4 separate regions of the Homo sapiens genome follow, and all the other regions are linked to region 4. Evidence: promoter capture Hi-C in human tissues and cell types (Jung and others, 2019). All regions are on one chromosome and are shown on one strand. Each heading gives the region's core, a stretch centred on a gene start or on the middle of the fragment in contact. The rest is flanking DNA. Distances are from core to core; before and after follow the strand shown.

Region 1 (2,700 bases), core at 53-2,552, 1.1 Mb before region 4:
TGCCCTCCCCACAGTGGCCAGCATGACAACAGCAGCTGCTCCGGATGGCCCACTGCTGCCATCACTAATACTATGAAACCTGTGATTGACAATATATGTATCTGCTTTTGTGGCCTTAGGTCAAATAATACAGTCTAAGTTATCACACAAAATAGAAGTGATAGAAGCAGGAAGAATAAATTGAACTTCAACAGAATTTAAAACTTTCGTTATTCAAACTACACTATCAAGACCACCCAAATAATAGTGATAGCCACAGGAGGCAGACAAATTCCTAGGCAGACGGGGATGGGTTCTCTGGTGAAAATTGACCTTCAAGCCAAGGACAGTCTGAAGCCTGAAAACCAAACTACCAGTTCTGGAGAGAGTCCATGGACCAGAGTGAGAACTTCTATTCATGCTTGCCCACTCTTTACTGATTGGTTTTTTGGAATAATGCTTTTTAACCAATCAAATGTTGCCTTTCCCAAGACTACCTACAGCCTGCACCTCCTCATTCCAAACCCATAAAAACTCCCGGACTCAGCCTCACAGTCGGCTACCCACTTTGGGTCCTGTCTCGTTGTTGAGAGCTTTTCTGTTGTTCAATAAAATTATTCTCTGCCTTGTTCACTCTCCAGTGTCCACGTTACTCATTCCTCCTGGTCGTGGGACAAGAACCTGGAACTCACTGAATGGTGGGATTAAAATGAGCTGTAACACTTCCTTCTGCTCACCGAGAGAAACAGCCACTGAGTGCCACTCCCTTCTGCTCACCAAGCTGGAAATAACGGGAATCAAAGGGCTGGTAACATGCTCCTGCTGGTTGGACTATAGGAGAAAGAGAGCTGTAATATGCCGCAGCTCACTGAGCTATGAGCTACAGGAGTGAAGAGCTGCAACATTCCTGTGGGGCTCAGACCTCAGGGCTCCCCAAGCAAGAGCTGTAACACCCCTTGGGGCTTTGCAACTGCTGTCACCTCCGTTTTCAGGTGCCACCACATTCCCCTTGTCTGGATGCTGGCCCCCAACCGGAATTCACTTATGGCACTCCCAGTCCAGCTGCAGGCTGAGTGGGGAGCCACAGGGGCCGTGGGATCTGGGCTGGGGCGAGAGCAGAGCACAGCGTGCCGGGCTGAGTGGGCAGAGCGAACCCAGTGGGTCTGAATGAGACCCGGGCAGAGGTGGCGATGGCTGCAGAGATTCCCGGCTGGCAAAGCAGCACTGAAGGAATCCTGTAACAATAGGAGAAAATATTTACAAATCATGTAGCTGATAGGGTCTATTGTACATAATCTGTAAAATATTCTTATAAGTCAAAGATATAAAGAAAAACATTCTAGTTAAAAGTGGACAAATTCTATGAATAGACATTTTTCCATAGAAGCTATACAAATGTACAATGCAAAGATGCTCAACAATATTAGTCCTCGATGAAATGCAAATCTAAACCGTCATGATACCCATTTCACAAATCCTAATGGCATATTCATAAGAAAACGAAGGCAGTTTGTAAAACAGCATACAAAACAAGTGCCCATCTATTAATTTGGAGTAAAATTACCCATAAAGTGTGTCTGCTCTTTGTTGCTTCCTCACATTTCAGGAATCTTGAACAAATGACTGCCCCTTCCCCAGGATAGTTTTTGGACTGTTAGCTTGGCCATCTCATCACTTGCATAGCCAGCATGCACTATTGTGTCTCATAGCCTTACCCTTTAGGAATGCTTGCTTCACAGGAGAATGTAGTCTTCAACGTAATCAACCTAGGGTTCAACCTAGACTTCTACACTTCAGGTCTTAAAGAAAGCCGACTCTATTTGTTGACCCTTGAATTAATTTCTGTCCTTTTCTGGCTTTTGTGTCTCTTGGTGGTTTCAGGTGAGAAAGTCCTCGCTTAACTCTGGTTAAGTAACCCATGTTCATCAGCCAGAACACTCAGCCATCTATTTACATATAAAGTATATCAGAGGACTGTCAAAGTCTGAGCCTAAAAAACAATGGACATGAATGTACATTTAAGCAATAGAAAATGGAGAAAATTATTGACTGAATCAACAAAAATAAAATTCTAAAAACACAAGCATGAGAACTTTCAAAAATACTTTGTTAGGTGATAAATAAAGGTTTCAATTTTCTTTCCAAGAGAACCTATTACAAAAATATATTCCACCTGGAGATGTATGTACAGTTTTCCTTAGTGGCATTTTTCATTTCATTGAAAGTAATTTTAGTAATCACTTATCAAATTACAAGAAAAGTATACATATCTATCTTATGGTTCACTTGTACAAAAATGCCATGTTTACCTTTGTGAAAGTAAGGTGGAAGGAATTAAAGTCTCCTGCCAAAGTTTATAGCTTTTGGGTCAAGGAAAAAGCAAACAATGTGATGTTCATACATGCACAGTAACATTGTGAGTAACATTGTGGCTGGCCTTTGCTTTAAAAATGAGTCTCAGTGTTTTATCTACACAAACCAATGCCTTTTTAACCTTTCACAATCACAACAGACTAAGTCATACAAACATTCACTGTTTTTATAAGCCTGAGGCTCTTAGCAAATTTTACCTTTTGGCTCTCAGAAAAGTCCAAGTAATTCTCCTTTTCAACCATAGGTATTTTATAGAAAATTTCTGGAAAACACTATAACAGAGAGTATGTAACACCTGTCTTTCCTAATAAAAGTGATATTTTTCATTTTATTAGGAAATTGTGATGC
Region 2 (2,700 bases), core at 25-2,524, 1.7 Mb before region 4:
GTGCTCTTTTTATGTTGGTTCAGGACAAAAGTTTTTTGACTGCTTTTTGAGTTTTCCCCTCACTGCCAAATGTAAGGATAAAATGTAGTAACAAGACATCTTGGTATGTATAGTGGTAATATCTTTGGAATTAGACCCTAATTTTAATTCTGGCCTTATTAATCTTGGTAAGCCACAGTTTTGTCATCTGTAAAATGGGTTGGTGAAACTTCCCCAGAGTTGTGAGGCTTAAAGTATGTAAAACGCCTAACACGTAGGCACTCAATAAGTATTACCTTAGAAATCTTCCTATCCAGTTTTTCTGAATGGTCTGGAAGCACCTTGTATGTAGTGGACTACAGCATGTTATCCTTTATGTTGTTTATTTCTTTTCTCATTAGCTATGAACTTTTTAAGGCCAGGAATTCCTAGTGTTTACCAGAGAATGTGTTACTAGATGTCTTAGTCTGTTCTGGCTGCTATTACAAAACACCACAGACAGCATGGCTTATAAACAACAGAAGTTTATTTCTCACGGTTCTGGGGGCTGAGAAGTCCAAGATCAAGGTACCAACAAATTTGACATCTTAGTGAGGGCCCTCTTCCCTTGTTCATAGATAGCTAGCTGTCTTTTCACCATTACCTCATGTAGTAGAAGAGTAGACGGGGCTCTATAGGGCCTCTTTTATAGAGGCATTAATTCCATTAATGATGGCAAAGCTTCCCAAAGGCCCCACCTCTTAATACTATCACCTTGGAGGTTAGGCTTTCAACATGAATTTTGGGGGACACATTCAGACCACAGCACTAGAGCAGGCATGAATTGGTTATTGGTAAATCAGTAAATGATCAACTAACATTTATTAGGTTCCTCCTGTGGCTTCTATGAGCTGAGCTAAGTACAGGACCCACAAAGACAAGAAAGATGTCTGTCTTTTTTGAATGCTTATAGTTGAGTGACTTTCTCACATTTGTGTGTGTGTGTGTGTGTGTGTGTGTGTAAAACCCTATCACATAATGGAACTTCATTTTCCCATGCCCTTCCAATCTAAGAGCAGTTCTATGGACTCAATACCTCCTACCCACCAGCTGCTACTGTAAAGATTTACTTTTTTACTCCTTTTAAAAAGTTCAACCCTCTGGCACATGCATTACTTCATTCCTTGGTCCCAGCCCACCACCCCAGTATCTGGCACGTAGTGTATTAGTATTTGTGTGTGTGTGTGTGTGTGTGTGTGTGTGTGTGTGTGTGTGTGTGTGTGTATGTATATAGAATTTAAAATTTTTACTCCGGCAGTTGTCTTCAAATACTCTAATTTTGGGGGGCATGATTATCATTCTGTCTTCTGGCAGTACATGGATAGATGCTACCTGAGTAGGATTGTCTATGAGGTCAGCTGCTCCAGTCATTTTATACAAGAGGAAATTGGAGTGCAAAGCTTTAAAATGATTTTCTTAAAGTCACCCAGGTGTCAGAACCAGAACCAGAGTCCATGTCTCTAGTTCAGGACTCTGCACACATTGGCACATGTTCTGTCCTACCTTTTGGGATGAATAGTTATACTTGCTTTGTGATTACTCACCCACCTTTTTGGAGACATATGAGTGTTTTGTACACTATTAATAGAAGGCAGCCTTCACAAAATGCCATCTGCAGATCTGTTATTTCTTCTAATAAAGGAAATGATGTAAAATTACCTTAAATAGAAATAGTGTTAATTCTTCTGGAGACATATTCCATAATCCAAACACGAAATGTTTGAAATACTTGAAGATGCCATATAAATAAGTCCTTTGTAAAAAGATAATATTAAAAATTTTTGTTTTATAGAGATGGGGGTCTCACTGTGTTGCCCAGGCTGGTCTTGAACTCCTCAGCTTTTACTTTAGCTTCCCAGTGTGTTGGGATTACAGGCATGAGCCACAATACCTGGCCAAGTCCTTTTTTTTAATCAAATGACTTATTAATACACAGTTTCTTTGCCAGCTTTTGTTTTCATTTGCTATCAAAAATGTTGCTTAGTAGTGCTTTGATCTGAGTTATCAATAACAGGTAAATGCCATTATGGATAATAATTCAAAAAGAAGCTTATTAATTATTAGGCCTATCTGAGAGTGAAGTAAAGTTAGCATTTTCTTTTTGTTTATTTTACTTATTGTTTATTTGTTTAGAGACAGGGTCTCGCTGTGTTGCCCAAGTTGGAGTGCAGTGGTGCTGTCATAACTCATTGCAGTCTCAGGCTGGAGTGATCCTCCCATCTCACCCTCCTGAGTAGGTGGGATTAGCATATGCCACCATGCCTGGCTAATTTTTTTATTTTTTAATTTTTTTGTGGAGATGGGGTCTTGCCGTGTTCAGGTTGGTTTCAAACTCCTGGTCTCAAGCGGCTTGGCCTCCCAAGGTGCTAGGATTACAGGTGTGAGCTACCATGCCCAGCTGAGCATTTTTAAAAAATACTGGTCTTTGTACATGAGTCGTTACTATTTGATTCTAAGCCTTATGACTGATATCCCTAAAAATTATTTATAAAATTTTAAGTGCATCAGAGTCATTGAAATGGAATGAGCACTGTCTTTTGGTCTTGAGGTTGTTTTAACTAGCTTCGTAATGGTCATGAGCAGGTTATTTAGCTTTTGAAGCCTTCGTTCCTTCTTTTGTCAAATGAAAGTGATAGTTGCTTTGTTTTAAAAGAGTATGCTTTTCAAACGTGATCATTCTTG
Region 3 (2,700 bases), core at 10-2,509, 1.5 Mb before region 4:
AAAGGTTACACCTTCCTAGAATAGCATTAGGATCACACAATAAGACTTGTTCTTAGCTCGTTTGACAGCATACTGACAAGTGTTGTGTCTTATGAACTTGTAAAATAGCAGTAACAACATGAAGTACCTGTAAGTAAGTTAAATTTCTCAGAGTCAAGGACTGAATGAGCCTTTTTAATCAGGGGAGTGGTTGCCACTGTACCTTATAAATATCATCGCATTTCCAGAGAGACAAAATACAAGAACCTGGGAAAGTAAGCAATGTGCCTATAATCAAGGCCTAATTTTGGAGTAACCCTTAATCTCAAGACAGAAAAGGTAGAACTCCTTTTTTAACAAGGTTAAAAAAGTAATACAAGTGAAGAAATAGCAGCTATTTTAAGGGCATAAAAGACTTCTTCAGCCTTATTTTGACTTTAATAAAGAGTTCTAGTGATGTTTCATGTAACATCTCAGTGAGAGGCTTAGCCTTTTCATAAAACGCAAAGATCTACAATTAATCCTCAAAATCGGTGAAGTTTTTTTTTGGCATGTTGTTTCATTTGTATATTAGGCTGACTTCAAGATGCAACCACCTTCCATCTGCCAATAACACAGATCCCAAATATTTTACTTCAGTTGGTAATATTGCAACTTAGCTAGCGAGGTTTTACGTCCTGGGAGTCTAAGAAATTTAGTAAAGCTAAAATGTCTTCTTTACTAGCATGTAAGTTATTAGCAGCTATCAATAACAATTAGTATGGAATCCTAATGTGAGGAATATTCTTTATATTTTCTTATAAATGCCCAGAGAATGGAGTAGGTGACTCTCTGAATTCCAGGAAGATCCGTTGCCACAAATATTGAAAGCCTCCCGCTCCACAGGTAAACTCAAACAGGAACCTCGACTCCCCAGCTAAACATGGAGAACAAAACATTGAACATAAATCCATGACAGAAAAATACTTAGATAACTCAGGAACAGATATTAAAACAGTGGCAAGGCTGGGAATTACAAGTGTCAGAGGAATCACAACTTGTTTCTCTAAGATCATGCATAAATCTATAAACAGTTTGACCTTCCCTGTCAAGTTTTCCTAACTTTCCCACAGGCAATATGGAAGCATTATGAAGTGAATGTGCCATTTTTTTTTAACTATGCCACGTTTTTTAAAATTTTTCTAATTACATCATATTTGAGGTAAAAATAGAGAAAATGTTCTATACATGGCCAAGGTTTTTCTCTGTTGTAAGTTACAACAATGGTATTGATCTCTTTTGTTAAATCTTTATCATTTGTTCCTAGGACTCATAGATATGGGTTTATTTTCTGTAACTTGGGAGTGCTTCTCCAGCATTGAGTGAGACTCCTACTCTCCCACAGCCATCTTTTGTTTCAGAAAGCACATATTTAGCAATGTAGATACCTTGCATCCCAGAAGCTCCAAAAGCACTCTCTTCAGAGTACAGAAGATCATAGCCCTTGGTTTACACAGCAGGCCCTTTCTTAAAAGATTATTGGGCATATTAGGAGACAAGGCATATTCTTCCTATTTTATGCAAATAGGACCTCGCCTATTTGCATGAAAACCTCAGAGGAGAAAGAAGAGGTAGCAGATAGTCCAGAAATACTTATATCTGGATATTTTCCTAGTTTAGGATAAAACAGAAAAGGCCTGTAGAAATTGCAGAATACGTTGCTCCAGTATCCAGAAGAAAGGGTAAAAAAGGATTAAAAGATAGGAAACAGAAACAGACACATAAATTTATCCTTTCCCAGCTCTGTTTCCTCATTATATCAGTTTTGCCCATGCTTTGCTCCATTTGCCAATGATTTTCTGTCTGATTTTACAGAGTAGGGAAGACCTCCTCAAGGAGGTTGTAAAGCTTGTCAGGTTTTATCCCTTGCATCTTTCTCAATCTCATCCAAGATTCCTTTTTCTAATGTGTTGACTTTTTACATGAGTGACGTATTAATTTCCCGTTAGCTTGTGCCCTCTTATTTATTGGTGGCCCAAATAAGTATTTGCTCACTTTGTGAATAATTGTAACTGGGCAGCTAACACTGCAGTCTTAAGGGTTTTTTCTTCTCTTTCTCCATATTTTCTCAAAGTTGGGTTACTGCCACTAATATTTGAGAAACTATCTGTTCTTGCTAGCTACCCACTTTTTCTCTTAGTTGTATTTGAATTCCTGGCAACAAAAGTGCCAGAAAAATGGAAAGGACCAAGGATCTATTCTGATCTGTCTGTGAATTTATACCTGTTAATTTAGAAAATGTTTCAGTGAGCTATGGTAAAAATCAATGGAGAAGTCACCCAGCTTGTGAGTACAGCATTTAGCTTCTCCCAGTTCACATTCTGTAGAAAGTTTTCAAGGACTGCTATAAGCAGTCCTTCATGTCGGATTCCCAAGGCATTGAATAGCCTATCTGTCAGGGGAGGTGGAGAATTGGACTCCAAGTCCTCAGCCCTCCTTCATGAGGGGGCTCTCACGTGGTGTTTATTGTGTCTATCAAAGTCAACTGGAGGCAACACTCCATGCAACATCCAGTGGGCATCCCCAGTGTGCAGGGCCAAAGATTGAAAACACACTTCAGAGTGCCTTGGGATATATTTGTGGATATCCTCAGAGCACTGAAAAACAACTCTTAAGACAGCTAATTTCAGCTGGAAAAAAAGGCATATGGATTATTAGTATTTTGGGTCCTGCAAGCAGTCC
Region 4 (2,767 bases), core at 231-2,730:
GAAGTAGATGGAGAGGAGAAGGAGGAGGTGGAGGAGGGTGAGGAGGAGGAGAAAAGTGTTGAAATAATTCCAACTAAGACTGATATCTAGGAATTACCCTGGTGAAGTGGGAAGCTTAAGAGTCCTGTTGGAGGGACTGGTGTGGTAATGGCTCTGCCAAAAGTGTTATGTGCGTGCAAACCCAAAGAGAGAAAGCACAGAAAACCTTTCAACATCAACCTGCTTGAGGAAAAATAAAGTGGGAAAAGATACATACTCACAGTGAGGACTCTAGACATGTCAAGACAATTTTTAAATATGCTTTTGGCTTCGAGTGGCAATAACTAGATTCAAGACAGCATATTTAAGAAGCTGCTGATGAGAAGAAACCCGGGAAGAGCTGAAGGACCACATCAGCCCAGACCAAGGATGCTGAAGCAGCATTAAGGTCCCTGGTTTCAGATGCTCAGGCAATGACCCTTTTTTTCATGGAGAGCCTGTAGGAGTGACAGTTTTGTCTTTGCCCACTGGGAATCTGTTTTCCATACCTGGAAAACAGGGTTACCTATGTTTCCCCTGCTACCCTTTGGTCATCTCAGAGACACTACCAGATATTACCCATGGGACCTATTTTTTTTTTAAATCTCAGGAAAGACTTGGGTGTGGCTTCCAACGTGGAGGACTCAGTAGCTTCAGAGAGGGTCCTGAGAGAAGGTGAATTGAAGAATGAGGGTGCTGGGCAGAGGGAAAAGACATTATCATACAAGTTTGTGCTAAAAGATATAGCAATCCTTCTGCTATGGACTAAGTATGGAAAAAAATAAAATGGAATCAAAGTTACCCAAAGGAAGTGTAAAACCCAAATTTATGCCCGTTAAAGCATTAATGATGCTCTAAGTCCACTGCCTACTTAAAAAGTTCATAGTTCACATGGGTTGATAGGAAATTACGTTAACGACACACTGCATTTCCCCTTTTCTTATAGCCTATCTGATTTGGTAGGGAGTCGATCATTTTTTATTGGAATTTCTCAGGATTCCAACCTCAGACATCCACTTTACAGTTTACACATTTTCTTGGACAAGCCCGACTGTTCCTCTCACTGGTTCGCATAAAGCTCATGTTTACAAAGCCGCCCAGACCTTTCTCTGGGACTCTCATATTTAACTTAATTCTGGATATACCCAGGTAAGCGTTTCCCAAGAAACTTGACCCCAACATCCCAAAAACTTAAGGTATCTTTCCCTTAAACTGGCCCCTTCTCCAGTACGCATCCATCTCACTTCTCTCCTGCCCTAGATCTTCTCAGCCCAAACAGGAAACCCCGGGATCGCTCTCCCAGCAGGTGAAGCCTCGCCATGGACCCTCCCCGTCGGGGCCCCGCGCTGCCCCGCCCGCCCCCAGCCGCTGGCCAAGGCCGCGGTCGCGCAGGCGCAGTGCCGCGTCCCGCCGCCGCCCCGCCCTGCCCGTCGCTGCGGAAGGCGCCGCGCGCAGCAACGCGCACTTCCTCTCCAGGAATCCGCGGAGGGAGCGCAGGCTCGAAGAGCTCCTGGACGCAGAGGCCCTGCCCTTGCCAGACGGCGCAGACATGTCAGAACAAAGTAAGGATCTGAGCGACCCTAACTTTGCAGCCGAGGCCCCCAACTCCGAGGTGCACAGCAGCCCTGGGGTTTCGGAGGGGGTTCCTCCGTCCGCGACCCTGGCAGAGCCGCAGAGCCCTCCTCTAGGCCCGACGGCCGCTCCGCAGGCCGCGCCGCCTCCCCAGGCCCCGAACGACGAGGGCGACCCGAAGGCCCTGCAGCAGGCTGCGGAGGAGGGCCGCGCCCACCAGGCCCCGAGCGCGGCCCAGCCGGGCCCGGCACCGCCAGCCCCGGCGCAGCTGGTGCAGAAGGCGCACGAGCTCATGTGGTACGTGCTGGTCAAGGACCAGAAGAAGATGATCATCTGGTTTCCAGACATGGTGAAAGATGTCATCGGCAGCTACAAGAAGTGGTGCAGGAGCATCCTCCGGCGCACCAGCCTCATCCTCGCCCGGGTGTTCGGGCTGCACCTGAGGCTAACCAGCCTGCACACCATGGAGTTTGCGCTGGTCAAAGCGCTGGAGCCCGAGGAGCTGGACAGGGTGGCGCTGAGCAACCGCATGCCCATGACAGGCCTCCTGCTCATGATCCTGAGCCTCATCTACGTGAAGGGCCGCGGCGCCAGAGAGAGCGCCGTCTGGAACGTGCTGCGCATCCTGGGGCTGCGGCCCTGGAAGAAGCACTCCACCTTCGGGGACGTGCGGAAGCTCATCACTGAGGAGTTCGTCCAAATGAATTACCTGAAGTACCAGCGCGTCCCATACGTGGAGCCGCCCGAATACGAGTTCTTTTGGGGCTCCCGGGCCAGCCGCGAAATCACCAAGATGCAAATCATGGAGTTCCTGGCCAGGGTCTTTAAGAAAGACCCCCAGGCCTGGCCCTCCCGATACAGAGAAGCTCTGGAGGAGGCCAGAGCTCTGCGGGAGGCTAATCCCACTGCCCACTACCCTCGCAGCAGTGTCTCTGAGGACTAGCAAAGTCTGGAGGCAGATGAATGGTTTCTGACCCTCACCAGGGCTGTGGAAGGGTGGGGGTGGGTCATTATAGTATTCAGGATTTACAGTGCAGTATTCACGTGTAACTTTTAAGTTTTCAGTACAGTGCTTTTATACCTTTAATGCAATGTTGTATTCATTTGGGTACTATTGTGTAGTATTTAGGATGTATGCATGTTTGTTTATATGTAAGCTTGGTTGGTGCTTTCGCTT

Evidence for each region. Contacts are between HindIII fragments. The study calls those that stand out against the background at their distance.
Region 1: a fragment that was not itself captured here is called in contact with the fragment with the promoter of NDN in region 4 in 1 of the 25 tissues and cell types used here (mesenchymal stem cells).
Region 2: a fragment that was not itself captured here is called in contact with the fragment with the promoter of NDN in region 4 in 1 of the 25 tissues and cell types used here (dorsolateral prefrontal cortex).
Region 3: a fragment that was not itself captured here is called in contact with the fragment with the promoter of NDN in region 4 in 2 of the 25 tissues and cell types used here (heart left ventricle and mesendoderm cells).

What each region holds. Positions count from the first base shown.
Region 1 is chr15:24,745,973-24,748,672 of GRCh38, reverse strand. No RefSeq gene overlaps it. Among named protein-coding and RNA genes, the nearest start is that of NPAP1, 72 kb to the right of the region's middle. The HindIII fragment of the contact is 8,881 bases long and covers 1-2,700 here.
Region 2 is chr15:25,433,512-25,436,211 of GRCh38, reverse strand. The region is part of intron 1 of UBE3A (ubiquitin protein ligase E3A); the gene reads left to right. Among named protein-coding and RNA genes, the nearest start is that of UBE3A, 4.2 kb to the left of the region's middle. The HindIII fragment of the contact is 3,349 bases long and covers 1-2,700 here.
Region 3 is chr15:25,159,663-25,162,362 of GRCh38, reverse strand. All of the region lies in intron 61 of SNHG14 (small nucleolar RNA host gene 14), which reads right to left. Among named protein-coding and RNA genes, the nearest start is that of SNORD115-1, 9.7 kb to the left of the region's middle. The HindIII fragment of the contact is 4,579 bases long and covers 1-2,700 here.
Region 4 is chr15:23,686,018-23,688,784 of GRCh38, reverse strand. NDN (necdin, MAGE family member) reads left to right here and starts at 1,480. Exons shown (of 1, transcript NM_002487.3): 1 at 1,480-2,767. The coding sequence starts at 1,568. The coding sequence ends at 2,533. The HindIII fragment of the contact is 8,447 bases long and covers 1-2,767 here.